Regions from separate parts of the Homo sapiens genome. Here region 2 is linked to region 1. The links are contacts of gene promoters, found by promoter capture Hi-C in human tissues and cell types (Jung and others, 2019). All regions are on one chromosome and are shown on one strand. Each heading gives the region's core, a stretch centred on a gene start or on the middle of the fragment in contact. The rest is flanking DNA. Distances are from core to core; before and after follow the strand shown.

What was found. Contacts are between HindIII fragments. The study calls those that stand out against the background at their distance.
Region 2: a fragment that was not itself captured here is called in contact with the fragment with the promoter of PTPN13 in region 1 in 1 of the 25 tissues and cell types used here (hippocampus).

What each region holds. Positions count from the first base shown.
Region 1 is chr4:86,593,055-86,595,754 of GRCh38, forward strand. PTPN13 (protein tyrosine phosphatase non-receptor type 13) reads left to right here and starts at 1,261. Exons shown (of 48, transcript NM_080683.3): 1 at 1,261-1,735. It also overlaps a transcript of MAPK10 not described here. RefSeq lists an enhancer at 912-1,498. The HindIII fragment of the contact is 10,688 bases long and covers 1-2,700 here.
Region 2 is chr4:87,117,300-87,119,999 of GRCh38, forward strand. All of the region lies in intron 12 of AFF1 (ALF transcription elongation factor 1), which reads left to right. Among named protein-coding and RNA genes, the nearest start is that of KLHL8, 100 kb to the right of the region's middle. The HindIII fragment of the contact is 4,409 bases long and covers 1-2,700 here.

The DNA.
Region 1 (2,700 bases), core at 11-2,510:
GCATATTTGACTGAAGATATCTATCATAGTTATTCATTTAGTAAATGATATAATGAAAACTCAAGTGCTCGCCAAAGATAAATCATTACTATTAATTCCCTCATTCATCATACATGTATGGCAGCCTCAGGGGCTAGGGAACCTAGGATTGCTGCTTTGACTTTTTTTGGGGAAGCCAAATAAGCCTCAGATCTCTCCACTTTGGAGCCAGCCATGAAATTCAGATTTACCTAGGGCTCAACATTAAGGGTCTCAGACTAAATTTATCTTCAGGTACCCTTTCCAGAGTGGACCAGTTTACCTTATACCTCTGAGAATAACCCAAAACTTTCAAAACTCAAATCACAGGATATTATTTGTTCATGAATTCAGCAAGACTCTCTTGTTTAACTATTGAAACTCAAATATTTCGGCTTGCAGCAAGGAGGGGTACAGCTGTCTGGATATACCTTGGCCAAATTTCAGTGTATATAGAAAAGTGGGAGGTTATCGACTATGTTAAACCTTTTCCTTAAATTTTCAAACTTCGGGATTATTTTAGTCTCATAGATAAAATAACAAGGCAAGTATTTACAAACTTTTTTCAAAAATATGAGAATTTCAGTTTTCCCTAGGGCATTTGGCGTTGTGCTGTCACCACACTTTTGAAGATAGCTTTACAACCGTGGGAAAACTCACCGGGCTTTTTTCGTTGACCCCGCCATTTCTAAGTTGCTATATTGCTGCAAGGAGCTGGCAAAGCCATGCTCTTCCTCTCCCCCATTCTCCTCTTCCTTTCAAAGACCAAAGCGCCCCGTGAGAATATAGAAACAAGGCTGAGAGGCAGCGAAGAGTAAGGGAGGAGCCAGCACTTACGCATTTTTCACTCTCCTCCTCACTCCCTAGGGTCATAGTTTTGATTCTGAAGTTAGAAGTGTGGGGGTCGTCGGCTGCATTTTCAACTTGGCCTAAAAGTTGGAGTTCACCACACTGCAGGCGCTAGGAACTCTGCCGCTCGGTCACCAACCTGAGCCTCTGGCTAGTCCGAAGAACGCGAAAAGCCAGGCCCAAGGCACTGGTTGTCATGGCAACCGGGGCGCTGGTCTCCCTGGCGACCTCGTCCCTAGGGAGGAGGTGGAGCTGGATGCCAGGCGGGCCAATGAGGTCGAGGGGAGCTCGGGGTGGGAGATCTGCGGTCCTCCCAGTGCCGGGGAATGGTTGAGTGACAGGACCGGGGGGGCGGAGCCGGCGCGGCTGCCCGAGGTGGAGCCCCAGTGGTGCGAGTAGCTCCAGCGGCCACGCTGAGGCGAGGGTGACACACCATGCTCACGGCCCCTGGAGACCGTCGTGCTGGCGAGCCGTGCTCCGTAGCTCCCCGGTCCGCCTCGGCAGCGGTCAGAGTCGCCTACAGGAGTTGAGCCGCCCGCGCCAGAAGGTTTTGGCGAAGCTCTTGGAGAGGCGTCGAGCACAGTAGGGCGGCGGGGGTGCGTTGAGCGCTCGGGGGTCAGGCAGTCGGCCGGGATCGCCGCTGGGGAGCGTTTCCGAGGCGAGGAGGAGGAGGAGGAGATGCTGCTCCTCTTCTCCCCCTCCCCAGGCTCCTTCTACAGCTCCTTCAGCCCACGCCCGCAGCCGCTTGTGGGAGAAGTGGTGGTGGCTCTCGGCGCCCGCGGCGGCTGCCGGCGGCCCGCCCCGACGCCGCGTCCCTGCAGCCCTCGCCCGGCGCTCCAGTAGCAGGACCCGGTCTCGGGACCAGCCGGTAAGGACGAGAGCCGCCCTGGGCTCTGCGCTGCATGTGCAGAAGTGCAAAACAAAGTACATTGCGCTCGTTCTCTTCCTCCTCTCTCTGCTTTCGCTCCAGTCCCTAAACCCAACTCCTCGGTTGCCCTGGTAGAAGGAACTTTTCTTTGGTTTTGGTGGTGGGTGTTTTTGTACGTTAGAGTGGGGGTGGGGTGACTGGAGTGGGGAAGAATGAGATGAAACTCCATTGCTAATTAGGTAGATCCATCTCCTCTGCGGAAGAAAGCCGGATTCTCGGGAATGAAACCCACAGGGGGAGTAAGAGATTGTGGGGTAATAGGGAGTGACATTGCCCCGTCGTGCTTGCACAGCTCCGCTCTGTGCGTGCTTAAGGGAAGGGCTCCCGGAGTCTGTTTCTAATTTCTGCAAATGATTGTGGAGATGGTGTGGTTAGAGGCCGCCCAGAAGAATGTGTGTGTAAGGGCTCGAGAAGGGGGTGGGATGGCGGGGAAGCAGAGGAAGAGGGGGCAGAGGGAGAGACACTGTCTGATGCAAGGTCTTTTATTGCTTTTCTTCTGCTTGCTAAAGTTAACACTCTACCCTCCGGCCCCCTAGCCCCACCGCTTTGCTCATTACGTGATACTGTAAGAGCAGACAGCTGGGAAGCTAAAGTTAAACCAAAGTCAAGAAAATTCTTACAAAGTTTAATTTCCTTCTGTTGTGAATATAATGGAGAGAGGAGGATGGGGAGAAATATCACTAAGAGATTTACAGCAATACAGTTTTCATTGGCCATACACGTATATGATCGACACCACCGCACACTTCCAACTAATCTGTTCGACAGCCTTGTGTCATTTTCATTTAATTGCATCTTTGAAACAACAAACGCGGTGACTTCATAGGGAGCTGCCTGGAGCTGAGCTCCCTCGCAGAAAATGGGGCAATCGGGTTTGTTTTCAAGGCAGGACCTGAACAAAATGT
Region 2 (2,700 bases), core at 71-2,570, 520 kb after region 1:
GTGATCCCTTCATCTTAATCGAGTGCATGATTTCTTTAAAGCGCTGTCAAGCTGCTGAGAGATCTGGCCTGGGGAACAGTCTGCCTCCGTGGTACTGTCAGGATTGATGTCTGACCCACTGGTTCCAAACCCCGGCTACACATTACATTCACCTGGTAGCCTTTAGCACTGATGACGGGAATCCCCAACCCCCATTGGTATTTTAAAAATTCCTCTGGTAATCCTAGTGCCTATCAGGGCTGGAAACCACTGAAGCAGAGCCGTACTGCAGGGCCCAAGAGCATACAAAGCTAGTTATTTGGATCCAAAGTTGGTCAAGTGTGCAGTGTTTAGACATCATGATCTAGGCAAACAGAATTCCTGGCCTGAAATATGTCACTAGTTAGAAACATTAGAAGCTTTCAGGTAAATAAATATAAAAAACCAGTCAACCGTATTCTTATTTCTTCGTCAGAGAATCATGTGTCGTTTGGTTTAACTTCCTGCTGGATTCTGGATGGGAGTTGTTGAACATATTAATCTCATTATTTTCTGTAGAGGACAGGTTGTCCCCCCTTCCTCATTAGCGCCCTGACTGCTTGTTAGGGCTCTCTGCCTCTGGCCCTGTGACCAGCACGGTTGCTCCAGCAGGCAGCAGTGTGTGGGCCTGCTCTCCATGGCAGAGACAGGGCTGTGAAGCTTGGGTACTGCTCACATTTGGATAATGAAGATATTTTTCATTGTGTTCATTTTAAATGTGAACATTAGAAAAAACTCTGAGCATATAGTCAGAGGAATAGAAGAACTTGCTTGATCCTTCACATTAGTGGTATTTAGTGTTTTTATTTAAAGGCCTCTTAGAGTCTGTCCCTCTCTTGGCACAAAATTTAGCCAAATATTTTCTTTCAGAAGATTTACAGATCCTTGAATCCACTTCAGACTTAAAAGTGTATGAAGATGATCATAAAGAGTTAATGATGGCTAACAGCTGTGATGAAGCCATTAGACATGGCACCTATAGAAATGCACACGTTTTTTTACTACTCTACAACAGTGGGTAAGGAACAATGCATGAGGAAAAGTAGAGAAAACTGTGAGGGTAAATACGCATGACCTCACGTCGTGTTCTTTACATAAACTACTGAATTTCATCAGTCTGATTACAGTTTAGATTTTCTAATACCAACTTATGTTTTCTTTTAAAATTTTTTTATTTTTAGCTTAGAGACTATTCTGTTAATTACTTATTTTTTAGAGACAGGGTCTCGCTCTGTTGCCCAGGCTGGAATGCAGTGGCATAGCTCACCAACCTCAAACTCCTGGGCTCAGGTGACCCTCCTGCCTCAGCCTCCAGGCACATGCCACTGTACCCAGCTAATTTATTTTTTGTAGAGATGGGGTTTCACTTTGTTGCCCAGGCTGGTCTTGAGCTCTGGGCCTCCAGCAATCCTACCTCAGCCTCCCAAAGCAGTGGCATTACTGGTTGAGGGTAGTTGTCTAGCTCCTTGGTGTTTTGAACAAAGAATTGGACAAAATGCACAAAAAACCAAGGCAGTGAAAGCAGAGATTTATTTTAAATGAAAGTATGCTCCACAGGGTGGGAGCCGGCTGAAGCAAGAGGCTCAGGAACACTGGTTCTTCTGGGGTTTATATGCCTTCTAGAGGTTTCCCATTGGTTTCCCATTGGTTCACTCTAGTGGTCCACGACTAGTCTGATTGGTTGTAGGGGGGACCAATCAGAGTTACTTTCATTTTCCACACAGAAAAAGGAGGGGTTATATCTTATATCCAGTCAGGGTGGGTGGGCCTTAGGTTCCCTGCCTCCAGACCCTATTCTCCTGCCTCACTGGGGTTACAGGCATGAGTCACCATGCCTGGCCTATGTTTTCTTCTTCAGAATTCTTAAACCAAGCTTATTTTTTTCCAGATTTGGAAGAAAAGTTGAACTCAAGAACCACAATATATACAGTAATACACAACCAGGCCAGTGCAATTGGGAGCCCTCTAAAAATGTACCTGGCTGGGCACAGTGGCTCACACTTGTAATCCCTGCCCTTTGAGAGGCTGAGGCGGGTGGATTGCTTGAGCCCAGGAGTTCAAGACCAGCCTGGGCAACTCTGTGAGACACTGTCTCTGAAAAAAAAAAATTAGGCACAGTAGCGCATGCCTGAGGTCCCAGCTACTCGGGAAGCTGTGGTGGGAGGATCACTTGAGCCCAGGAGTTAAAGGTTGCAGGGAGCTGTGATTGAGTCACTGCACTCCAGCATGGGCAACAGAGTAAGACCCTGTCTCTAAAAAAAGAAAAATAAACACGTAACGTGCATAGAGCTACATGTGTGAGCCTTGCATTGTTCTAGGAGCTCATAGAGATAATTCCTCACTTCATTCAGTCATCTTACAGATTCCTTTCAAATGAAGGATAGTCTGTCTTAATTGTCATTTAGATGAATAACTGAATAAGGAGGTGCATTCATTCAAATCTTTTTTACTTTTTCTAAATAATCGCTTTGCTGACCAAGACACTTCAACTTTTTTGGGAAAGACATTCCAGTGCTATCATTTATGCGTTTTGAAGAGTGAGGAAGGGAAGTTATGATGTGTAGTAGGAAAATGCAGTTTTATTGCAGGGAGTGATTGGTTCAGTCCTTCCCTTCCATCCAAGATCTGACTGTCTTTTCTTGGGTTATTGCTCCAGATCAGCACCCCTAGTTATCGTTCAAA